7 separate regions of the Homo sapiens genome follow, and regions 1, 2, 3, 4, 5 and 7 are each linked to region 6. The links are contacts of gene promoters, found by promoter capture Hi-C in blood cells and fetal thymus (Javierre and others, 2016). All regions are on one chromosome and are shown on one strand. Each heading gives the region's core, a stretch centred on a gene start or on the middle of the fragment in contact. The rest is flanking DNA. Distances are from core to core; before and after follow the strand shown. Region 1 has its middle 55 kb from the start of SPIDR. Region 2 overlaps SPIDR (scaffold protein involved in DNA repair). Region 3 has its middle 76 kb from the start of SPIDR. Region 4 overlaps SPIDR (scaffold protein involved in DNA repair). Region 5 has its middle 31 kb from the start of SNAI2. Region 6 holds the start of PRKDC (protein kinase, DNA-activated, catalytic subunit). Region 7 overlaps SPIDR (scaffold protein involved in DNA repair).

The links. Contacts are between HindIII fragments. The CHiCAGO score rates a contact against its expected background, and 5 or more counts as called.
Region 1: a fragment that was not itself captured here is called in contact with the fragment with the promoter of PRKDC in region 6 in 4 of 17 cell types (neutrophils, total B cells, M0 macrophages and 1 more); the score reaches 11.5 in neutrophils.
Region 2: a fragment that was not itself captured here is called in contact with the fragment with the promoter of PRKDC in region 6 in 1 of 17 cell types (total CD8 T cells); the score reaches 5.4 in total CD8 T cells.
Region 3: a fragment that was not itself captured here is called in contact with the fragment with the promoter of PRKDC in region 6 in 1 of 17 cell types (naive B cells); the score reaches 5.4 in naive B cells.
Region 4: a fragment that was not itself captured here is called in contact with the fragment with the promoter of PRKDC in region 6 in 1 of 17 cell types (neutrophils); the score reaches 7.9 in neutrophils.
Region 5: a fragment that was not itself captured here is called in contact with the fragment with the promoter of PRKDC in region 6 in 1 of 17 cell types (naive CD8 T cells); the score reaches 6.2 in naive CD8 T cells.
Region 7: a contact is called between a fragment that was not itself captured here and the fragment with the promoter of PRKDC in region 6, in 5 of 17 cell types (neutrophils, total CD4 T cells, fetal thymus and 2 more). The highest score is 10.6, in neutrophils.

The regions. Positions count from the first base shown.
Region 1 is chr8:47,204,666-47,208,167 of GRCh38, forward strand. No RefSeq gene overlaps it. Among named protein-coding and RNA genes, the nearest start is that of SPIDR, 55 kb to the right of the region's middle. The HindIII fragment of the contact is 1,089 bases long and covers 1,099-2,187 here.
Region 2 is chr8:47,307,679-47,311,385 of GRCh38, forward strand. All of the region lies in intron 5 of SPIDR (scaffold protein involved in DNA repair), which reads left to right. Among named protein-coding and RNA genes, the nearest start is that of SPIDR, 49 kb to the left of the region's middle. The HindIII fragment of the contact is 1,435 bases long and covers 1,538-2,972 here.
Region 3 is chr8:47,183,252-47,186,863 of GRCh38, forward strand. No RefSeq gene overlaps it. Among named protein-coding and RNA genes, the nearest start is that of SPIDR, 76 kb to the right of the region's middle. The HindIII fragment of the contact is 907 bases long and covers 1,460-2,366 here.
Region 4 is chr8:47,326,516-47,329,946 of GRCh38, forward strand. All of the region lies in intron 5 of SPIDR (scaffold protein involved in DNA repair), which reads left to right. Among named protein-coding and RNA genes, the nearest start is that of SPIDR, 67 kb to the left of the region's middle. The HindIII fragment of the contact is 3,871 bases long and covers 1-3,337 here.
Region 5 is chr8:48,950,853-48,954,237 of GRCh38, forward strand. No RefSeq gene overlaps it. Among named protein-coding and RNA genes, the nearest start is that of SNAI2, 31 kb to the left of the region's middle. The HindIII fragment of the contact is 173 bases long and covers 1,851-2,023 here.
Region 6 is chr8:47,958,673-47,962,283 of GRCh38, forward strand. It overlaps PRKDC (protein kinase, DNA-activated, catalytic subunit), which reads right to left and starts at 1,464. Exons shown (of 86, transcript NM_006904.7): 1 at 1,301-1,464. The coding sequence starts at 1,454. MCM4 (minichromosome maintenance complex component 4) reads left to right here and starts at 2,269. Exons shown (of 17, transcript NM_182746.3): 1 at 2,269-2,342; 2 at 2,459-2,542; 3 at 2,844-3,008; 4 at 3,381-3,544. The coding sequence starts at 2,473. RefSeq lists an enhancer at 933-1,092 and silencers at 1,273-1,322, 1,333-1,632, 2,303-2,702. The HindIII fragment of the contact is 8,899 bases long and covers 1-3,611 here.
Region 7 is chr8:47,280,816-47,284,227 of GRCh38, forward strand. SPIDR (scaffold protein involved in DNA repair) reads left to right here. Exons shown (of 20, transcript NM_001080394.4): 3 at 3,213-3,279. Among named protein-coding and RNA genes, the nearest start is that of SPIDR, 22 kb to the left of the region's middle. The HindIII fragment of the contact is 528 bases long and covers 1,486-2,013 here.

The DNA of each region.
Region 1 (3,502 bases), core at 393-2,892, 750 kb before region 6:
GGGCCATGGCCGTGCTTACAAGAACCCCACAGGCCAGCCAGGTGCGGTGGCTCATGCCTGTAATCCCAGCACTTTGGGAGGCTTAGGCAGGCAGATCATCTGAGGTCAGGAGTTCGAAACCAGCCTGGCCAACATGATGAAACCCCGTCTCTAATTTAAAAAAAAAAGTACAAAAATTAGTCAGGCATGGTACCGGGTGCCTGTAATCCCAGCTAGTTGAGAGGCTGAGGCAGGAGAATCGCTTGAACCCAGGAGGCGGAGGTTGCAGTGAGCTGAGATTGCACCACTGCACTCCAGCCTGGGTGACAGAGCGAGACTCTGTCTCAAAAAAAAAAAAAAAAAGAACCCCACAGGCCAAAGCTGAACCGGCTCAGGAGGTGGTACTATGGAACCATCTGAAAGACACGCTGGGTCAGGAATGTTGAGCTCGCCTCTATTTTCACCACAGAAAACAGGAGTCATGTGTGCACAGCCTCCTAAATGGGCCAATGGTCCTCAATCTTGCATGTCTCAAGATAATCTGTGGAGCTTCATAAATGTATAGCTCCTTGGGTGAAAATTCTGATTCAGGAGGTCAGGTGAGGTATAGATTTCCATAGTACAGAAAATAAAAGTTCCTCGGATGGTTCTGATGTTGAGCCAAGATGTATAAATCACTAAAATAAGCCATTGGAAAACATGATTGATTGTAAGGATATGGGTATGGATAAGGATTTAGGAGATGCCCTGAGGTCCTCTCTCTTCCAGAACCTTATTCTTTTCTTCATAGGCATGTGCCATGCTTGGTAATTTCACATTAACTTGTTTTGTGTCTGTCTCCCTCACTAGAATGTCAGCTTCTTAAGGGCAGGCACTGTGGCTGCTGTATTCACACCAATACTCCCGGTACCAGTATCTGGGAAGGCCTAGTGCTCAATAAATATTCACTGAATGAATGACAAGGAGCTGACTTTATGTACTTTTCATTGTCTTATATTTCAGATAGTGACTATATTTTTTTTTCTGTAAAAAATACAAGCATCCAAGTATGGTGGGAAAATCTACAAACACTATCACACACACAGAGACAAGAGCACACATACAGCAGTGACTGATGAAAGCTTAGGTGAGCTCTTAGTTCTCAAGGCTGTAGACTGAGGGAAGGGAGAGGAAGCAGGTTGGGGGCGTGTGTGTGCAACCCTTTTCCTCACTGAGTTGCAGGTAGGGGCATTGTGAGGCCAGCACCTCCAGCCTGGAACACTGATCCAGGACCCCCTAGTGTCTGGGGCTTGAGGCCCCACCCTGTCTTCTCAGGACTCTAAGCACATCTATTTCCAGGTATTTTCAGCTGCCACAGCCAGGAGGAACAGAATTGTTCCCCTCCCTTTCTGAGGCTCACTTTTAAAGCACTGGACTTGTGGAATCCAAGGCTCTCCCTGAAACACCAGTTCTGAGTGGATTTAAGAGGGTGGGGAGGGGAAGGGATCCTCCCCAACTAAATTTCACAGCTGCCCTCCTCATGCAATACAGGCCACGGCCTGCAGATGGGCAACAGTGATGGAGAGAAGCAGGAGTAGTACAGAATGAATTTGTGAAGACATGCACACACATGCACACACACACACATTTGCACATGCATGCACATGCACACATACCCCACTGCAAGAGAAAGGAATGTGACCCGTGGGCTGGTCTCTGGGCTGGGAGGCCCTGAGGCTGAGCCTATGGGAATCAGTCAGGAGGTTCTGCTGTTGCTCAGGCTTCTGCCTAGAAGCACCTTCTGCAAGATTGATGCTCCCCAGAGACTGGGGAAGAATCAGTAACTACCTCCTCCCCTGGCTGCCTGAGAACACCCAGGGCTTGTTATAGAATCTAACTGGGGTCCACTCACCCAGCGCAGTAAAACCAGATATCTAAACTGAGGGTTTTGCAGTGAATAGAAAGGAAGGCATTTATTGCAGGGCACCAAGCAAGGAGAATCTGGCGGGCTCCTGCTTAAAATCTGAACTCCCCGGTGGCTTGCAGATAAGGGTTTTTAAAACTAGTAGTACATTTCAGGAAAGCAGAAGCTACAGGCAAAATCACAAATCAATACACAGAAGTTACATGTTGTTTTTGGCCCCAAAGGGTGGGATATCTTGAAGCAGGGGCTTACAGGTCATAGGTAGATTCAAAGATCTTCTGATTTGCAGTTGACTAAAATAGAGAAGCTTTGTTTAAACATTTGGGGTCAGTAGAAGAATGTTAACTGGTTATGAGGAATGACTTTCTCTAAACCCCTTGGGAAGAAACTTAGAACCAAAAATCGTTTAAAGTTTAGTCTTCACTTCCCCTTTATCTGGGGGAATATGTCAGTGGATCCTTTCTGTGGGGTCCTCAGTGGGGATCCAAGCCTCTGAAAGACAACTCAGGGACATAAGCTAAGAGATTATCATTGGTTTCTGTAGGGAAAGCTAATATCTCTGGGACTCTAACCTCTTTAGCTATTGTTTTAGCCTACTGTTGTCTTCTTAACAAGTCACTTATTTACTTGTTGGGGATTGCGAAGTGCCTGGAATTGCCCTCAGAGGAACTCAGGATTTTCCTTTATTTCTGTGCTTGGGGTCTGCAGGCCCCTTAAAAAGGGGGTTCTTGCTTTCTCTCACATCCCTTACCCCAGGTTAACATAGTCAAGAATCTGAGAAAAAGGCAATGAAAATAAAACCTCTGTGTGTCTCACTTGGGAAGAATCAACTGTGCAGCTCCAGAAGTCACAGCTGCTCTCAGGTGAGCCTCCTTCCTAAGCTCTCTCCCAGGGCTGCTCCAGGGCAGCTGTCCCCATCCAGATGACTAGAATCCCACCCCATGAGACACACCAAGCCACTTGCTAATTCCTTGGGAGGTCTTGCATTTCCCCCGCAGGCCTCATCTCTGGAAACTCTCCCCTTATCCCACCCTCTCTCAAAGTGCCCTCTGCCCCAACCACGTGGCCAGTTGCTCTTCCTCTATACTGGATCCACTGAAGTCTCAATGAACTGCTCCTTTGCCCACACACCTCTCACTTCTGCTGTCACACTGAGCCCCCTCTAGGGCCCCCTGTGTGGCTGTGAATATTCCACCAGACTGAGTCTGGTTGAAGTCCACTGTGAGATTCTGCCCCTTCTCCCTGAGCCTGGCTCAGCAATGGCTGCATGGCAGACACCATCTATCCACCCATCAGAAAGGGGTCCTGATCCAGATACCAAGAGAGGGTTCTTGGATCTTGCACAAGAAAGAATTCAGGGAGAGTCCACAGAGTAACGTGAAAGCAAGTTTATTAAGAAAGTAAAGGAATGAAAGAATGGCTACTCCATAGGCAGAGCAGGGCATTTCCAAAAGCAAGAGGAGGAACATGCCCACCTTAGGTACAATGCCTTTTTATGTACAAGAGAGCAAAGCAAAAAAAATCATGGGGGAGATGTGCTCCACTACAAGGGCTCATGACAAAACAGTGTTCATCTTGTGTAACTACTGTCTTCCATAAGAATCTGTATTTTTATCTTTA
Region 2 (3,707 bases), core at 1,005-3,504, 650 kb before region 6:
CAGGCGTGTGCCACCATGCCCGGCTAATTTTTGTATTTTTAGTAGAGATGGGGTTTTGCCATGTTGGCCAGGCTGGTCTCAAACTGCCAACCTCAGGTGATCTTCCCGCCTTGGCCTTCCATAGTGCTGGGATTACAGTCATGAGCCACTGTGCCCGCCCTAGTACTTTGAACAACTTTAAAACAGTTGTCATAAAGTCTTTCTCTGGAAGGTCTGCCATCAGGTCTTTTTCAAGGACAGTTGTGTTGTTTTATTTTTTTTTCTTTTGAATGTGTCATACTTTCCTGTATATCTTGTTATTTTTTTGTTGAAAACAGGGCATTTGAATATAATGATGTGGTAAGTCTGGAAATTAGATTCTCCCTCTTCCCCAGCATTTGCTGTTTGTTTTGTTTTGTTTTGAGGCAGAGTCTCACTCTGTTGCCCAGGCTGGAGTGCAGTGGTGTGATCTCGGCTCACTGCAACCTCTACCTCCTGGGTTCAGCCGATTCTCCTGCCTCAGCCTCCCAAGTAGCTGGGATTACAGGTGTGTGCCACCATGCCCAGCTAATTTTTGTGCTTCTTAGTAGAGATGGGGTTTCGCCATGTTGCCCAGGCTCGTCTCAAACTCCTGACCTCAGGTGATCTGCCCACCTCAGCCTCCCAAAGTGCTGAGATTATAGGCATGAGCTACCATGCCCGGCCTGCTGTTTTTTTTTTTTTTTTCTAATGTTACTGTTTTTGTTTATTTTTATTGTTTGAGGCTTGTCTGTATGTGAAGGATCAGCCTGAGGTGTAAGCTTAAGATTCTCTGAGTCTTTTCTAAGCCTGAGTTTTTCTCCAGGAATGTGCAGGAAGTTTCTAATTTTTCCCTTATATACAGTTGCTTTCAAATGCCGTAGTCTTTAACATCTGACTCCCAAAAGGGAAAAAGAGAAAAACTAAATCCTTTAAATCCCCAGCAGTTACTTTGTGGGTGGGGGTGGGGATGGGGGTGGGAGAGGGCTTGTAACAGTGAGTGGAGATGAAGCAACAATGTGTGTCCACCTCTTTGTCCCATTTCTGTGATCAGAAGTAGCATTCAGTGATCAGGGCACACATGCCCTATATTTGGAAGAGAGGGTCCTTTTTGCCTGTCCTTGGTTCCTGTAAGCTGCGCGCAAGCTGCTCCTTGGAATGCATGCACAACTGCCTGCCTTGGGGCTGAGGGTGGCAAATGGATAGCTGCTACTGTGCTAGTGCTAATACCTGCAAGTGATTAAAATTATATTCAGGCCTTCCCCTGGACATTAACAAGCCTTCAGTAGATTCCAGAGTTTCAAAATAGTTAAATAGAACAGATTCTGCCAGTGCAATGATCTTCTAGGTGGAGCAACACATGCGTGGTGCTTCCTACTCCACCATCTTCCCAGAATCCTCTGATTGCGTATAAGTTACCTATAGTTGAAAGAGTTTAATTCTGATCATCATACATTTTAGAAACCTCTCATATATGCTTATATAAAAACTGATAAAATTTAGTGCTTGTAAAGGGAAATCTGGAGTTCTTAGTCAAGCTTTTTGTATGATTATATTTTAAAGATTTAATTATAGAAACATTGTACTGAAGTCTATATTCCAGTGTGTTCTTATGGTAAAAAGAAAAGGTTGGAGATTTTATTGAGGAGTCTGTATTTTTTTACTGTTATTTTATATTATAACTCATGTATTATATACTGTATCTGTTCATTATCTTAGTATAGCATTTTCGGGCTTTTATTCTCTTTATGAAAGTGAGTAACTGTAGGTACCAATATCAATTGTTGCATCTGTGCCAGAAATTATATTTTATCTTTTCATCATCTCCCTTCTTGTATAGCTGAACTTTAGCTTAAAAGATGCCAGGACAAGGAGTTTGTCAGATTGTTCCTTTTCTTTGCATGAACCTTCTTCCCCTTTCAGTATCACTGGGTCATCTTATTTCCCTTCATTCCCCTCTTTCTTCTCCATCTTTTCATTTCCCAAATACTTCTGTTTTCTGATATAAGAAGGACTATAACAGAAAATGATTGCTTTAGGAAATATTGTTACAACTGTGTAATGTTAAAAAGTAGTAAGTTGGCCAGGCACAGTGGCTCACGCCTGTAATCCCAGCACTTTGGGAGGCTGAAGTGGGCGGATCACGAGGTCAGGAGGTCAAGACCATTCTGGCTAACACAGTGAAACCCTGTCTCTAAAGAATACCAAAAAAAATTAGCCGGACATGGTGGCGGGCGCCTGTAGTCCCAGCTACTCAGGAGGCTGAGGCAGGAGAATGGCGTGAACCCGGGAGGCAGAGCTTGCTGTGAGCCGGGATTGCACCACTGCACTCCAGCCTGGGCGACAGACTCTGTCTCAAAAAACAAAGTAATAAGTCGGCCAGCGCTGTGGCTCACGCCTGTAATCCCAGCACTTTGGGAGGCCGAGGCAGGCAGATCACGAGGTCAGGAGATTTGAGACCATCCTGGCTAACACAGTGAAACCCCGTCTCTACTAAAAATACAAAAAATTAGCCGGGCGTGTTGGTGGGCGCCTGTAGTCCCAGCTACTCGGGAGGCTGAGGCAGAAGAATGGTGTGAACCCAGGAGGTGGAGGTCGCAGTGAGCTGAGATCGCGCCGCTGCACTCCAGCCTGGGTGACAGAACGAGACTCCATCTCAAAAAAAAAAAAAAAAAAAAGTCACTATGGATGTCACTTTTGTAGTCTTCTGGTATTATAAACAATTCTTTGGAGTTGTGCTTTTAATAATTACAGAGGGGCACATGTCGGACTACCTTTCCTGAAAATAACAATGACAACTTTTGGACAAAATATAAAAAAAGTATGTGAAAGCACAGTAGGAGGACAGAAAGTAGGAAGAAACTGAAGGATGTTGACATTTGGAAGATAGAATGGTATAAGATGAGCATTTCATTTTTTGTGGATGTTTCCCAGAGGACAGAACTCGGTCATTGGTTGTGTAGGTGACGGAAGCTTGAATAAAAACCACAAGACAGAGTTAGGGGTGACTCTAGCAGCTAGAAAGTTAGTGAGTATAAAGTAGTCTTTCATAAAGAAGGGTGTCCCAAATTCTGCATAAAAGTCTTAGGCTAAAATAACTAAAGATATTTCATTTGCACAAGAAAGAGTTCAGAGGTGTATAGCCAACTTACCTACCTATTAAGCAAAAAAAAACTAAATAGTCTTCAGAAGAACATAATCAAATCCAGAGTTTCTAAAAATGTACTATGCACAGTGTCCAGAATACAATCCATATTCAGTAGACACACACATACACAAACAGAAAAATGTGACCCATACTTAAGTGAAAAGCCAATTAATTGAGACTGGCCTTGATATGACTCCTATGTTAGAATTAGCAGCTGTTATAACTCTTCTTAAGGTTATATAAAGAAAATATGTACACCATGAATAAACAGATAAGAAACCTCAGCTGAAAAATGGAAACTAGGTAAAAGGACTAAATGAAAATTCTATAGGTAAAAAATACAATATTTCAAATGAAAACTGATTAGAGATTACAGAAGATTAGGAAAAGAAAAGGAGTCATTGAAGTTGTTGGATTCATAGAAGTTATTCTTTCTTAAAAAGTGAAAAAGAGATTTCAAAAAATGAAGCTAGCCTCAGTGGCTGGTAGGACAATATCAAAAGGTCTAACACTTGGAGTCCTAGAAATAGAGGCCAGGGGAAATTGGGTCAAAAAATTCTGG
Region 3 (3,612 bases), core at 663-3,162, 770 kb before region 6:
TGCATGGGTTCCCTGGGGAGGCAGCTGCTGAGTGGGTCGGTTCCTGGGAACCTGCATTTAGGAAGCTCTGGGCTGTGCAGGCATCACCCTGGGATTCAGACAGGTGAGAGGCCCAGCCCTTAGAGGAGCTATGTCAGGGAGAGTGCCTTCCACCCTGAAGCCACCCTAGACCTGGAGGAGCTGCAGTCCCCTCCTCTGCTAAAGGGCCTTTGAGGAGAGTGGGGCTGACTCCCAACTGGGCAGCTCTTGAGAAGGACAAACGGCTGGTTTGTGCACCCATTGTCTGCTCTGTGTCTCCGTTGGTCCCTCTGTCTCTTCCTTTTCACATTTCTGCACATAAAATATACTGGCGTTTGTGTTCCACAAGGCAAATGTCCACTCTTTGCCTTGTAGACACTCAGCGGTTCATTTGCTCCTCAGATATTTTTTAACTCAGTGCTGGCTCATTGGCAACATGACCTTAGCCTTGCCTCCCTATGATTCGTGCTCCCAGAGCTTCCGGTTGATCCTCTACAACACACATACCGAGCCCCTGCTCCTCTACCCCAACCCTCTCCCATCCTTCAGTGGCTCTCACTGTCCTACAGCAGGGGTGGCAAATCTCTAGTGCCCACCCAGTACACTCTAGTGGAGTGTACTGCTCCACCCCTGCAGTACAGGGGACATTGCTAACTGATCTGTCACTTTTTGCCCTGATGCCACCTCGGAATCTTTTTCTTTTTTTTTGAGATGGAGTCTCACTCTGTCTCCCAGGCTGGAGTGCAGTGGCGCAATCTCAGCTGACTGCAAGCTCCGCCTCCGGGGTTCACGCCAATCTCCTGCCTCAGCCTCCCGAGTAGGTGGGACTACAGGCGCCCGCCACCATGCCGAACAAATTTTTTTTTTGTATTTTTAGTAGAGATGGGGTTTCACCATGTTAGCCAGGATGAGTCTCGATCTCCTGACCTCGTCATCCACCCACCTCAGCCTCCCAAAGTGCTGGGATTACAGGCATGAGCCACCGTGCCTGGCCCCACCTCGGAATCCTTCTTAACACATGCTCTGAAATTAGCACACTAGCAATGAAATGAAGATGACTTATGAAATAAAACCCACAGGTCATCCTCTGTACTGCAAGGTGGAACTCAATCTCTGGAGAGTGGCATTCCAGGCTTTTCATGACCCCTCCAGCCATTTCCCTTCTGCCCTCTCCAGGCTCTCTAGTCCCCATTCCATGCCTTTGCTCCTCCTTTTCCATCTGTCTAGAATGTTCTTCATCCCCTATCTCCTGGCAAACTACTCCTCATGCTTCAAGACCTCTGTGAAGCCTCTTCCCCTCCCCCAGCACTCATGTGCTCTCTCTGACTCTGTCTCTCTCTCTCTCTCTCTCTCTCTCTATATATATACACACACACATATACACATACGTACATCCATATACCTACACATGCACCTATTACTGACTATCAAACCCCAGGAAAGCTTACTAGCAAGGTCACTGAGAGTAAGGATGCTGCCTCACTCAGTGACCAGCAGTGACTCATATGTGCATGTGGAATCACCGTACAAAGAAAATGTAGGTTCTGTGCTTGCAAATGGCCCTGACCTTCATGGCACTACAGGGTGGATGATTAGCTACTCACAACACAGATGCAGAAAAGGGTCCATCTTTACCTGCCCCAGTATCGAGAAAAAGCAGTATGCATTCATTAACTGCACCTTTCAAAGTACTGTCCCGCCACATAGAGTTTCTGCTCCCTATCTTCCTTCAATAAATTCCCTCTTTTTTGGTTAACTTGTCTCTTGGCTGAAATCTTTTTCCCAATACAAACAAAGGGCTGAGGATTTCTGCACTTCCTAGTACCACTAATATAGCCACAGAAACTTTCTGTAAATGGTTTCATGGTATGTTTTTTCCATCCTGTTATTTTTAAGGGTTTTTTTTTTCTTTTTTTTTTTTTTGAGTCGGAGTCTCGCTCTGTTGCCAGGCTGGAGTGCAGTGGCGCAATCTCGGCTTACTGCAACCTCCGCCTCCTGGTTCAAATGATTCTCCTGCCTCAGCCTCCCAAGTAGCTGGGTGTCTGCCACCACGCCCAGTTAATTTTTTGTACTTTTAGTAGAGAAAGGGTTTCACCATGTTGGCCGGGATGATCTCGATCTCTTGGCCTCGTGATCCACCGCCTCGGCCTCTCAAAGTGCTGGGATTACAGGCGTGAGCCACCGCACCTGGCCTTTTTTTTCCATTTTAATAAGTACACTTAACATGAGATCTCTTAACATGAAATCTACCCTCTTAACAAAATTTTAAGTACATTATACAGCATTGTTAACTGTAAGCACAGTGTTGCACAGCACATCTCTAGAACTTACTTATCTTGCATAACTGAAGCTTCATAGCCCTTGAGCAGTGACTCCCCATTTCCTTCTCCCTCTGCCCCTGGCATTCTACTCCACTGCTGTTAGGCTGACTATGATAGAGACCTCACACAAATGGAGCCAGGCAGCATTTTTTCTCCTGTGACTGACTTATTTCACTCAGCATAATGTGCTCCAGTGTTATCCATGTTGTAGCATATGGCAAGATTTAATTCTCTATGAATTTGAATAGTATCCCATTGCATCTATACACCACATTTTCTGTAAACATTCATTGATCAGTGGACCTTACATTGCCTCCCTGTCTTTGAAACTGTGATTAATACTGCAATGAATAAGAGTGTATCGATATTTCTGCAAGATCCTAACTTCCATTCTTTCGGATGCATACTCAGATGTGTTCTTTGTTTTAAGGGTATATATTTTTATTTAGTTTGTCAATCCAAGTGAGAGCCTGGCAGGGCTCTATCACTTCAGTCACAAGAAACTGAGACCTGCCCCTCATCTCTGATTTTCATAGGTTTTGTCTCACCTCTCAGCTTCCTGCCTCCTGTGGATTGGGATTCCATATCTGTCATAACAGGGATTAGTGTGGGCTAGAAATCCTCGGTCTCCTGTTTCTTTTCCATCCCTGTGATATCATAAATTATGAATTTGGTCTTTGACCCCATTTCCCATCATACAACTCATAAAACGTTTAGAATTACTGAAGTGATGCCTTTTTGTATGCCACTGAGATGACTGATGGCCAGCAGTCCCTAGGTAGCTTCAGGATAGGGGCCAGTCACCAGAAAGACCAAGGCAGGGTTAGAGGATAGGGACTTCCAGCCTTGTCTCCCAACCTCCATGGAGGGAAGAGGGGCTGCAGGTTAATCACCAGTGGTCAGTAGTTTACTCCATCAAGCTTGTGTGATGAGGCCTCCATAAAAACCCAAAGGGGGCTGGATTGGGAGAGCTTCTCGGGGACTGAACACATGAAGGTTACTGGATGGTTGTGCACCTCTTCCCATACCTCACCCTATGCACCTTTTCATCTGTGTCGGTTATATCCTTTATAATAAACCAGTGAATTTAAGTAAGTGTTCTCCTGAGTTCCGCAAGGCATTCTAGCAAATTAATTGAAGCCAAGGAGGAGTTGTGGGATCCTCAGTTTATAGGTCTTTGGTCAGAAGCACAGATGAAGCAACCTGGGCTTGTGATTGGCATAAGAAGTGGGGCACAGTCTTCGTGAAAGAGCCCTCAAGCTGTAAGATCAGA
Region 4 (3,431 bases), core at 152-2,651, 630 kb before region 6:
GTGGATTCACAAAGTTTTGCAACTAATACCTGTATCTCATTCTAAAACATTTCATCACTCTGCAAGGAGACACTATACTATTAAGCATCCATTCCGTATTCCCCACCTCATCTCAGTCCTTGGTAACACCAGTCTGCTTTCTGTCTCTGTAGTTTTACCTGTTCTGTTATTTCACATAAATGGAAATCATATAGCATGTGACCTTTTGTGTCTGGCTTCTTAACAAAATGTTTTTGAGGTTCCTCCACATTGTAGCATGTATCAGTACTTCATTCCTTTTTATAGCTGGATAATGTTCCATTGAATGTATATGCCACACGTTGTTTAGCCATTCATCCACTGATGTGTATTTATTTCCTCCCTTTGGCTACTGTGAATAGAGCTGCTAGAACCCTGGTTTACACATTTCGGAGTACCTGTTTTCAGTTCTCTTGGATATATATGAAGGAGTGAAATTGCTGGACTATATGGTAATTTTATGTTACTCTTTGAAAAACTACCTGTTTTCTGCAATGACTGAACCATTTTACATTCCTGTTAGCAACGCACAAAGGTTTCAGTTTCTCCACATCCCTTGCCAGCACTTACATTATGGTCTCTTCTACCCACTTAAAAAAAAAATCCTAGTGGCTGTGAAATGATACCTTATTAAGGTTTTGGTTTGCAATTCTCTAATAGCTAATGATGATGAGCACTGTTTCATGTGGTGGTTGGTGATCTGAATATCTTCTTGGAAAAAATATCTATTCAAGTTTTTTGTTGATTTCTTTTTCTGGTTGTGTTATAAGAGAATGATCTATATATTCTGGATACTAGACCCTTGTCAAATATATGACTGGCAAATGTTTTCTCATATTCAGTAGGTGGTTTTTTCACTTTTTTTTTTTTTTTTTTGAGACAGGGTTTTAATTTTGTTGCCCAGCTAGAGTGCACTGGCACAATCATGGCTCACTATAGCACTACAGCCCCAACTTCCCCAGGCTCAGGTAATTCTCCCACCTCAGCCTCTCGAGTAGCTGGGACTACAGGCACGCACCAGCACACTTGGCTAATTTTTTCCCCCTCGAGGCAGAGTCCTGTTCTGTTGCCCAGGTTGGAGTGGAGTGGCGCAATCTTGGCTCATTACAACCTCCACCTCCTGTGTTTAAGTGATTCTCCTGTCTCAGCCTCCCAAGTAGCTGGGATTACAGGCACGTGCCACCATGCCTGGCTAATTTTTGTATTTTTAGTAGACACGGGGTTTCACCATGTTGGCCAGGCTGATCTCAAACTCCAGACCTCAGGTGATCCACTTGTCTTGGCCTCCCAAAGTGCTGGGATTATAGGCATAAGCCACTACACCTGACCTGATTTTTGTATTTTTGTAGAGATAGGGTTTCGCCATGTTGCTCAGGCTTGTCTTGAACCCCTGAGCTGAAGCGATCCACCCACCTTGGCCTTCGAAAGTGCTGGGATTACAGGCATGAGCCACGACCCCTGGCCGTGTTTTTTTTTTGGTTTTTTTTTTTCACTTTTTTGACAATATTCTTGGATGCACAATAGTTTTTAGTTTTGAAAAAAGTTCAGTTTATCTATTATTTCTTCTGTTGCTCATAATCTTGGTGTCATATCTAAGAAACAATTGCCAAATCCACGATCATGAAGATCTATTATCTATGTTTTCTTAGGTTTTTGCTCTTCTATTTAGGCCATTGATGTATTTTGAATTAATTTTTGTGTATGGTGTGAGGCAGGTGGTCCAACTACATTTTTTTTTTTAAAGAGATAAAGTCTTGCTCTGTCACTCAGGCTGGAGTGCAGTGGCATTATCATAGCTTACTGCAGCCTTGAACCTCTGGGCCCAAGTGATCCGCTCACCTCGACCTCTCAAATAGCTAAGACTTCACCAAGACTGGCTAATTATTTTTTTTTTTTTTTTCAGAGATGGGGTCTTGCTATGTTATCCAGGTTGTTCTCAAACTCCTGGCTTCAAGTGATCCTCCCACCTAAGCCTCCCAAAGTGTTGGTGATAACAAGCGTGAGCCACCACGTTGGGTACCAACTTCATTTTTTTGAATATGGAAATCCGGTTGTCCCAGCACCATTTGTTGAAAAGATTATTCTTTCCTTACTGGCAGGTCGTGACACCCTTGTTTAGTGTATTGTATCTCTTATGCAGAGCATACAGTGGAATCTTCACTTTTTTATCCTGCATGACAGTCTCTACCTTTGGCTGGGTTAATTTATGTACATTTAATGTTATTGTTGATATAGTTGCATCTATGTACACCAGTTTACTTTTTCTTTTTCTAAATGTTTCAGGGTTTTTTTTCTCAAGTCTTTCCTCATTTCTTTTACTTTAAAGCAGTATTTTCTTTGGCAATATTTAGTTCTTCTAATGTCATTTTCACAATTTTTTTTTTCTTTTTGGAAACAGCATCTTGCTCTGTTGCACAGGCTAGAGTGCAGTGGCAGAATGTTGGCTCATGGCAAACTCCACTTCCTGGGTTCAAGCAATTCTCGTGCCTCAGTCTCCTGAGTAGCTGGGATTACAGGCATGCGCCACCATGCCTAGCTAATTTTTTTTTTTTTTTGAGATGGAGTCTCACTCTGTCGCCCAGGCTGGAGTGCAGTGGTGTAATCTCAGCTCACTGCAACCTCCGCCTCCTGGGTTCACGCCATTCTCCTGCCTCAGCCTCCCGAGTAGCTGGGACTACAGGCACCCGCCACCACGCCCGGCTGATTTTTTTGTATTTTTAGTAGAGATGGGGTTTCACCGTGTTAGCCAGGATGGTCTCGATCTCCTGACCTCATGATCCGCCCGCCTCAGCCTCCCAAAGTGCTGGGATTACAGGCGTGAGCCACCGCGCCCGACCCAATTTTTGTATTTTTTTGTAGAGACAGGGTTTCACCATGTTGGCCAGGCTGGTCTCTAACTCCTAGCCTCAAGTGGTCTGTCCACCTTGGCCTCGCAACGTGTTGTATTACAGGTGTGAGCCACTGTACCCAGCCTACAATATGTTTTTGAGTGAGATTTCATGGGTTGCTTTAGTGCTTATCAGGTACATCTCAACCAAATCTTCCTTAGATTTGTTACTAGTTTTATGCCAGTCACGCATAGAAACATTACCACTATATGGCTCTACTTTCTCTTCCTCCTTTTTATGCTATTATTGTTATACATATTGTATCTGTTATAATTATTAGTATAATTTTGTCTTTTATAGAAGGGAAAAGAAAGGAGAGCAAGTATACGTTTATAGTGTTAGATGACCCTTCTTATTTACCATTTTTTGTTCTCTTCATTGGTTCCTATGGAATCCTGTTACCATCTGGTGGTGTTTCCTTAGTTTGGTAAAGCTTTGTTCCCACCCACCACTCTTCTGTTACTCACAGATATATGACATTTCTATATGTTATAGGTACAATAGTACAATTACGTACATATTTTG
Region 5 (3,385 bases), core at 687-3,186, 990 kb after region 6:
TCCCTGGGTAGCAGAGCAGCAAAGGGAGAGATTTGGGGGTTTCCTCTCCTTCCTTGTGTCACAGTCATGCCTCCTGCCCTGAAGAGCAAGCAGTTTGGTCACCCTTTGCCTAAAGTGCCAGCTCCCACTGGGTTTCAGAGTCTCTGTTCCCTCCCTGTGCCCCTTCCATCCTGTGGGTGGTGCCAGTCTCCTGCTCCTACTTAACTCCGTGCACCTCATTGTCTTGTTTGTTCTTTTCCTCTGTCTGTGTCTGTATGAGTAAGCCCTGCTTTTAAGGATCTTCATTTGACCATTGGGGTGAAGTTTGTTGTTTGCAGGGACCCTTATTCCTTCACATGCCCATCTTGCTACCCAGCTACAGGGTCCTGGAAGCCTGGGAATTATGGGCGAATTATGTGTCATTCAGGGTAGGCTAAGTCATGCTGCAGTAAGGAAACAAATATTAAATTTGAACAACATGAACTATCACTAGCTTAAAACATAGAGGTTTATTTCTTGCTTTATGTTAAATGCACATGTTGAGACTATGTCTAGAGTAGGGAGGGGACTCTCTGCTTTTTATAGAAACTTGGGATTCCAATTGTCATGGCAGAGAGGAAGGGACTGACATTTGTAATAAAATATTCTCTTCTAGGAGTGGCACACGCCAGGCTCTCCATAGCCATTTGGCCTTAGAACTAGTCATATGGACCCACCTAAACAGAAGAGGGGCAGGGAATTCAGTCTTGTCATCTGAGGGCGGAAAGTCAGCATGTTTAACAAATAGCACTAGTTCCTTCTAAGTGTGCGCTTCTGTCACACATACTCAGCTCATGGTCCTCCCCAAAGGCAAGATGTTCTCACTTCTTCTTAAGGGGAGCAGCCCAGGGTTCCAATCCTGGCAGGCCCTATACTTAAAGTCAAGACTGTCTGCAGAGTGTCTGAGGCCTCCACAGGTGGATGTCTGCCTTGGTCTACAGACCAATGAGCTGTCCCTTTATACACCTGATATATGATGGTGAAAAGGGAAGAAAAAGTCGACAATAAACACTCTCTCCACTTGAAAAAATAATAATGAGGGACATACAGAAGTCACTGGGACTCTAAGTATTCACTGGGCAGATATTTTAAGCATCCCTCACACAGGAAGTGGAATTATTCCTTGACCCAGCTCTGATTCTTCTTCCCAGAGTGCCTTGATCACCATGGTCTCCAACACATCCTGAAATATTCTTCCTTCTTCATATGCTCCTTGGTCACATTTGAAATGGTCACTGGGCATGGTTGCTCCTTGGGGACTAGTTTCTTGAGCCACTACTTCCCCATGGAATGTTATACACATTTGGTTCTTTTAATTCTAATACAGTCTCAGTCTCCTTTCTCCCTGGCTGATTGTTTCTTTAGGCAGCAAAACCCTCAAAAGACTTTGGTGGCTTTCAAGAGAATTGATTCCTCAAGTATATGTGGCAAAAACACACCCACTGTTATTTTCTAGATATGTTTCTTAAATTCGCTATATTTCTCTGCTTTCTGGGTACCATGTCTTTCTCTCTCACAACTTTAATTCTGGCTTCGGAAGCTGAAATCTTATTTCCCTGAATCATTTTGTCCACTTGAGATTTATTTGGTGCCAAAATTGTAACTGATCATTGCTTTAAAATACCTCAATCCATCCTGATATTGTAACAATGCATGTGACTTCTATGCCTTGGTATTAAAAAAAATGTTGTTTGTAAAATGTCCCACAATCTGGATTTATGTGAAGATTTAGGTTAACATTTTTGGCAGGAGTACCACATAGGCGATTAACATTATTCTAATAATTGTGTCAAATCTGGTGGCACATCATGTCAGTTTGTCTTATGATATGAAGCTTGATCGCTTGATCCCTTACTAATCATTTTGCTGTTTTAAAAAGAGCTTTTTCACTTTGTAAATAATCTGCATGGGGTACTTTGGGCAAGGAAGTCCATTCTGGATTAAAGGACACTAAAAATACTCTCTGGGTGGTCTCGTGTGCTTTAGCCACAGCTTGCTGGTGGCAAGCTTCTTGGTCTGGAATGGTCCTGGCTGCAGTGACAGCTCTCCCCCTGGGGTCTGTCACTCAGGCTCTTTCCTATGGGGGACACATTCTCATGGTGGGGTGTGGATCTCCAGTAGAATGCTAAACTTCCTAACTGTTTTTCCAAGGCTTTGCTAGGGTCTAGTTTGCTATGACTCATTGGCCAGAGAAAAATCCCACTGCCAATCTCAGAGTCAGTGTAGAAATGTATGTCCAAAGGGCATGGTCACAGGGAGGGCTAAATAAAATGGAGGCTCTTAATGAGTCAGAATGTAAATGCATATGTAATACTGCAGGTGACTGACAATTCTCCTCTGCAGGGAATAGTAGTCTTCATTCCCATCAGGAATGAAATTTTATCTGTTAAGAATTTATTGGACTGTCTATTTCTCCAGGATCTCCTCCACAGTATATGTTGTTAAATTTTGGGTTATGTCATCAGTCTGATTTTGGAAAATTGTATATCACATCTTAAAAAATTGCATTTCACTTATGCAAAACAGAGAGCATTTTTAGTAAGGTGAACTGCCATTTGTAGATTTTTTTTTCCTGTAAGCTGGCTTTTTATATCTTCAATCTATTATTAATTGTGTAATTGCAGCTTTATATATTACAAACGAAACCCTTTGTAAAATGTTGCAAATATAGTTTTACTTTGCTTATGGTGTTTTTTTGTTTGCCTGTTCATCACAGAAATTTTTATGTAATAAAAAATTCTATTAATAAATATTTTCCCTTATTGCTTCAGGATTTCAAATGATAGGAAATTGTTTTCTGCTGCCATGTTTCAGAGAAATTCATTGGTGTTTTCTGTTAATACTTGTATGGTTTCATTTTTCACATTTAAATGGCTGATCAATTTGCAATTTATCTTGCTTTCTAGAATAATAATTGAATTTCTTTTCTTTTAAAATATGAACATCAATTTATTTTAATAATAACAAAGAACATCAATAAATTTCTTTTTTTCCTTTGAAATCCACTTCCTACTTTTTAAAAATATATGTATTATATATATTTATTTATTATACTTTAAGTTCTAGGGTACATGTGCACAACGTGCAGGTTTGTTAGATATGTATACATGTGCCATGTTGGTGTGCTGCATCCATTAACTCACCATTTACTTTAGGTATATCTCCCAATGCTACCCTCCCCCTTCCCCCACCCCACAACAGGCCTCGGTGTGTGATGTTCCCCTTCCTGTGTCCAAGCGTTCTCATTGATCAATTCCCACCTGTGAGTGAGAACATGCAGTGTTTGGTTTTTTGTCCTCATGATAGTTTGCTGACAACGATGGTTTCCAGCTTCATCCATGGCCCTACAAAGGACATAAACTCATCA
Region 6 (3,611 bases), core at 214-2,713:
TCCCCATTGTTAATATATTCTTGACAACAGATAGAGTACATATAGGATACATGTATATAGCATCTTTTTTTTTTTTTTTTTGGGACGGAGTCGTGCTCTGTTGCCCAGGCTGGAGTGCAGTGGCACAATCTCGGCTCACTGCAATCTCCTTCTCCTGGGTTCAAGACATTCTCCTGTCTCAGCCTCCCGAATAGCTGGGACTACAGGCGCTCGCCACCATGCCCAGTTAATTTTTGTATTTTTAGTAGAGACAAGGTTTCACCATACTGGTCAGGTTGGTCTCCATCTCCTGACCTCAGGTGATCCAGCTGCCACAGCCTCCCAAAGTGCTGGGATTACAGGCATGAGCCACCGCACCGTGCCACATATAGCATCTAGTTTAAACTGTTTAAGTTATTCCTACACCATATTCACTACTAGACCCTCCGGAAGAAAATCTCACCTTTTAATAGGGCACAACATCAAGGTCTGCATACTCGTGTTTTAAAGAAGGAATACAGGAGATCCACATAATTAAGTATTTGAATATTTAAAATGCTAAAAAGAGGCACTTTTACTACAAAGGGGAAAAAGTTCCCACCCAGGCATTGCTAAAGAGTTAAAAGAACATGACTTCAATTACATTTCTTCAATTTTTCTCAAAGTAGGAACGGCAAATAGAGGGGTTTGGAAAAGGTACTGGTGGGATTAGGCGAGATTCAGGTGAAAGAAAATACTTTCTCTTGGCCGGGCCCGGTGGCTCACGTCTGTAATCCCAGCACTTTGGGAGGCCGAGGCGGGGGGATCACGAGGTCAGGAGTTCGAGACCAGCCTGACCAACATGGTGAAACCCCATCTCTACTAAAAATACAAAAAAATTAGCCGGGCGTGGTGGCGCGCGCCTGTAATCCCAGCTACTCGGGGGGCTGAGGCAGGAGAATAGCTTGAACCCGGGAGGCGGAGGTTGCAGTGAGCCGAGATCGCGCCACTTCACTCCAGCCTGGGCGACAGAGCGAGACTCCGTCTCAAAAAAAAAAAAAATTATTTCTCTTGCCCTGCCCCCCACTCTGCATAGCAATGATTGCCATATTAGGGGTCGTTTTCACCAACTTTGGCTTTAAAATATCTTTCCTCTAATACTAGGGGGTAAAAAGCAGTATGACAAATCCCTTTATACACATACACAGAAATTCCCCCAAGAATCTAATTGCTGTACTTCAAAATACCGTCATCTAAACACAGAGAAGCGCCGGGCTGCCCGGCTCCAGAACGACTCGGGAAGCCAGGACCCACCCGCGGCCCAGCTCGGGCCGGTACCCACCCAGCACCGCGGGGCTGCTGCTCAGGACGCATTCCTGCCCCAGGCCGCGGATCAGTTGATGACCGGCCAGGGCAGCACCGCAGCGGTCCGCAGCGGACAAGGTCTCCTGCAGCCGCAGCAGGGAGCAACGCACACCGGCTCCGGAGCCCGCCATGCCGCCGAGTCCCGCTCCCGCGCGTGCGCCCGCTCGGCCCGGACCCGGAAATGCCCCTACGCGCGGAGGCGGGGCTGCGGGGCGCGGCGGCAGGAACTTTCCCGGGGACCCCTGCGGGAAGGCCTGGCCAGTAAGCGCGCCTCTTTGGCCCGAATCAACATGGAAACCTAAGGAAAAACGTCTGACCTGCGGAGGTAGTTTGGGTGGCTACTTGGTGTTGGACTTGGCTAAATAAATACCAGAGGCAGATAAAACAAGCGAGGGGCCTAGGTCAAGAGTTCCAAGTTTGTTCCTCGATAAAAAACGACAAACGCGGTCGGGGGCGGTGATGCCCGCCTGCAGTCCCAACACTTTAGGAAGCTGAGGCGGGGGGATCGCAGGAGTTCGAGACCAGTCTGGGCAACATAATGAGACCATCCCCACCACCTCCCGTCCTTAATTTTTTTTAATAAAAAAAATCTTTAAGTGAGAAATGCATCTGTAATGTCCTTATTAACCAAAAACGCCTAAGGGATAAAGAAGCACACGCTCCCTAGCCAACGCTAGAGGAACACACCCCGAGAGCTGGTGCTGTAGGACCCAGTTTTCCCGCGAAAACGCTGCCGCGCAGGGGGTCAGACCATCTGGACCAAGGGGGGCCGAGCGAGGCCTACTTCTGGTTTACGCACGGGCGCTGAAAGAAGCGGCACTGTCCCCCCCTGCCGATGCGCAGTGGCGCCTCCCGGAGGCGGAGCCACGTACGAGCGCCGCTGTGATTGGTGAGGCCCCGCCAGGGGCGGAGACGACCTTGCCGCCGGCGGGAACTCTGGGTCTCGCGGTTTGGGAGCGCTACTCGCCAGGTGGACTCGGAGTCCGCGAGCGTCGTCGGCAAGCGGCCGCCTTTCCACGGTAACCGCGCGCCGGCGGGGAGGGCGTGGCGCGGAGCCGACGGGAACGTCCGCGCTGCGGAGCAGGGCAGGGAAGCCGGGAGGCGGGCCCGGCCCGAGCTTGTCCTTGTCGCGCAGGTACTCCGAGCACTATGTCGTCCCCGGCGTCGACCCCGAGCCGCCGCGGCAGCCGGCGTGGAAGGGCCACCCCCGCCCAGACGCGTGAGTCCCCCGAGCCGGGCCCACTACAGCCCCCGGCGCCGCCCCGTCTGCCCTCTCGCCGCAGCTGGCAGCGCTGGGTGGGTGCGCGGGACCCGGGCGCTCAGCCTCGGGCTGGGCGCTGCCGCTTGGTGCGCACAGACACCCACAGCAGGCTGTGGCCTGGGTGCTGCTTAATTCGATTGCCATTTGCCTCTGTTTGGTTTGGTTCAGTGGTGAGTCATAATGCCCCAAGGAAAAGACAAATCCAGGAAGGCCGGCCCTGAAAGTTAATGGCTGTCTTTTCTGTTTTGTGTGACACAAGCTCGGAGTGAGGATGCCAGGTCATCTCCCTCTCAGAGACGTAGAGGCGAGGATTCCACCTCCACGGGGGAGTTGCAGCCGATGCCAACCTCGCCTGGAGTGGACCTGCAGAGCCCTGCTGCGCAGGACGTGCTGTTTTCCAGCCCTCCCCAAATGCATTCTTCAGGTGCGTGTCTGAAGATCTTGGTTTTGCTGTGCTTGATACACAGCTGATGCTTTATCTGCTCAGGTTTACTGGCTTTATAACAGTTGGCATAACGCCTAAAGCATCCCCTCTGCACGTGACTGAGCATGTTCTTAACCAGAGGAGCTGAACGGAGTGCAGAAAATAGTAGTTTTAGGGCTTAGTGAGCAGAGGAAGCAGCTTCTCTGGTGCTTTTTTTTAATAGAACATTTAAGAGTGCTCAGAATCTCAGCCACCGCAGGTTGCAATAAATATTCAGTTTGCTGTTGCGATTAGATGGTATAGATCAACAGACAACATGCTGTAATTTCAGGTTTGATATGCCACCAGAATTTCCTAATTTTGTTTTTATAGCTATCCCTCTTGACTTTGATGTTAGTTCACCACTGACATACGGCACTCCCAGCTCTCGGGTAGAGGGAACCCCAAGAAGTGGTGTTAGGGGCACACCTGTGAGACAGAGGCCTGACCTGGGCTCTGCACAGAAGGGCCTGCAAGTGGATCTGCAGTCTGACGGGGTGAGTATGCAGTCTCCTGAAACCATCTTATGGCGGGTATCATGTGGGTAACTCTGTTTTCATGATT
Region 7 (3,412 bases), core at 500-2,999, 680 kb before region 6:
GTGTGAGCCCCCATGCCCAGCTCACACCTGAACCTCTTTAATCCATGCAGAACCTTTCTACTTCTTTGTTTGTAAATGAAGGATATTTACTAAGAATGTTCTCAGAAGATGAAACCATTGAGCATACTACTCTTCACAAGAAATGCATGTTTACTCTGGAGGCGTACTCTGGAGATATTGCAGGTTTGGTTCAGGACCAACACAATAAAGTGAATATTGCAATAAAGTGATCACATGAATTCTTTGGTTTCCCAGTGCCTATAAAAGTTATGTTTATATTATAATGTAGTCTGTTAAGTGCAATAGTATTATGTCTAAAAAAGCAATGTATATACCCTAATTTAAAAATACTTTGTTGCTAAAAAAAATGCTAACAATCATAGGAGCCTTCACCAAGGTATAATCTTTTTGCTGGGGGAGAGTCTTGCCTTGATGCTGATGGCTGCTGACTGATCAGATGGTTGGTGGTTGAAGATTGGGGTGGCTGTGGCAGTTTCCTAAAATAAGGCAAAAGTGAAGTTTACCACATCTATTTACTATTCCTTTCATGAAAGATTACTGAGTAGCGTGTGATGCTGGTAACATTTGACCAGTAATAGAACTTCTTTCAAAATTGGACTCAATCCTTCCAAAGCCTGACACTGCTTTATCAACTAAGTTTATAGGATATTCTAAATTACTTGTTATCACTTCAACAATGTTCACAGCATTTTCACCAGGAGTAGATTTTATCTCCAGAAACTACTTTATTTGTTCATTGGTAAGAAGTAACTCTTCATCCATTCAACTCGTAGGAAATTGCAGCAATTCAGTCATATCTTCAGGTTCTACTTCTAATTCTAGTTCTCTTGCTGTTTCTATCACATCAGTTTTTCTGCTGAAGTCTTGAACCCCTCAGTCATGCACAAGGGTTGGAATCAACTTCTTCCAAACTCCTGTTAATGCTGTATTTTGACCTTCTGTCATGAATCATGAATGTTCCTAATGGCACATAGAATGGTGAATATTTTTCTGAAAGTTTTCAGTTTACTTTGCCCAGATCCATCAGAGGAGTCACTATCTGTGGCAGCTACAGCCATATGACATGTATTTCTGAAATAATAAGATTTGAAAGTCAGAATCACCCCATGATCCATAGTCTGCAGAATGGAAGTGGTGTTAGCAGGTATGAAAACAGCATTCATCTCCTTGTACTTCTCCATCATAGCTCTTGGGTGACCAGGTGCATTGTCAATCAGCAGTAATAGTTTGAAAGAAATCTTTTTCTTCTGAGCAGATCTCAACAGTGGGCTTAAAGTATTACAGTAAAGAATGCTGTAAAGAGATGTGCTGTCATCCAGGCTTTGTTGTTACATTTATAGAGCACAGGCAGAGTAGATTTATCATAAGGGCGCTAGGATTTTCAGAATGATACATGAGCATTGGCTTCAACTTAATGTTACCAGTTGCATTAGCCCCTAATATGAGTATCAGTCTGTTCTTTGAAGCTTTGATGCCAAGCATTGACTTCTCTCTAGCTACGAAAGTCTTAAAGGGCATCATCTTCTAATATAAGGCTCTTTCATCTATATTGAAAGTCTGTTTTTTAGCGTAGCTACCTTCATCAGTGATCTTAACTAGATCTTCTGGATCACTTCCTGCATTACCTTGTACTTTTATGTTATGGAGATGATTTCTTAAACTTCATGAACCAACCTCTGCTAGCTTCAGACTTTTCTTCTCCAGCTTCTTCACCTCTCTCAGCCTTCATAGAATTGAAGAGAGTTAGGACCTTGCTCTGGATTCTGCTCTGGCTTAAGGGAATGTTATAGCTGATTCAATTTTCTATCCAGATTGCTAAAACTTTCTATTAGCAATAATGCTGTCTTACTTTCTTATCATTTGTGTATTCACTGGAGTAGCACTTTCAATTTCGTTCAAGAGCTTCCCTTTGTATTCACAACTGGCTTAACGGTTTGGCTCAAGAGGTCTAGCTTTTAGCCTATCTTAGTTTTTGTCATGCCTTCCTACCTAAGCTTAATCATTTCCAGCTTCTTTTTTCTTTTTCTTTTTTTTTTTGAGAGGGAGTCTGTCTCTGTCGCTCGGGGTGGAGTGCAATGGTGCGATATTGGCTCACTGCAACCTCCACCTCCCAGGTTCAGGTGATTCTCCTGCCTCAGCCTCCCGAGTAGCTGGGATTACAGGTGCCCGCCACCACGCCCAGCTAATTTTTGTATTTTTGGTAGAGATGGGGTTTCACCATGTGGGTCAGGCTGGTCTCGAACTCCTGATCTCAGGTGATTTACTTGCGTTGGCCTCCCAGAGTTCTGGGATTACAGGCGTGAGCCACTGTGCTCGGCCATTTCCAGCTTTTGATTTAAGGTGTGAGACATTCAGCTCTTCCTTTGCTTGAGCACTTTGAGGCGATTGTAAGGTTATTAAATTGACTTAATTTTAATATTGGTGTGTTGCAGAGAATAGGAGGCCTAAGGAGAAGGCAAGAGATGGAGGAACAGCTGGTTGGTGGAGCAGTCAGAACACACACAGCATTTATTAATTTTGCTCTCTTATATTGGTTTTGACTGTGGCACCCCAAATCAGTTACAGTAGTAATACCAGAGATCACTGATCACAGACCATCATAGCAGATTTAATAATAATGGTAAAGTTTGAAATCTTGGAATAATTATCAAAATATGACACAGAGACACAAGTTTATAGGTGAGCAGATGCTGTTGGAAAAATGGCATACAGAATTGCTTGACACAGGATTGCCAGAAATTTTCAATTTGTAAAAAAATGCTTTATCTATGAAGCACAATAAAACAAGGTATGCCTTTATATTCAGAATCTTTTGGCAATGAGATATTCTGGATAATTTTTGTGTTTGTGGTAACTTACAGAGTAATGCTATTACAAATTCAAGATAATTTGGGTATGAGTAGTAATGAGTACCTCATAGGCAGTTGGAGTCACATGTATGAGCAGATATTACACTGAATGTTAATGGGAAACGTTTTGGTCAGTCAGATCTCTTTAGATTCAGGAAAAATAGAATGAATTTATAAATATATAAGGAGTACATGCTTTGGGATTACTGAAATTGGTGAATTGGTAAAGGAAATCAGAGAAGAATATGTTAAGGAGAGTGTAGTTTAAGATTTTGAATATTTTATAAAAGTTTTTTTTTAGCATTTGTCACATAAATTCCATGATTATTATTTTGCCTACAGTCATTAACAGCTGAAGAGAAGACGATTACAGAAAAGCACCTTGAATTATGCCCTAGACCCAAGCAAGGTAACTATTTTGTTGATTTCTTGACAGAGAAGATATAAGACTAATAAATCCTTCTGTGATTATTTTAAAAATTTGCTGTTTTAAAAAAGTGACATGGTTTGGGTAGACTATATTCATAGTTAAAAAACATCAA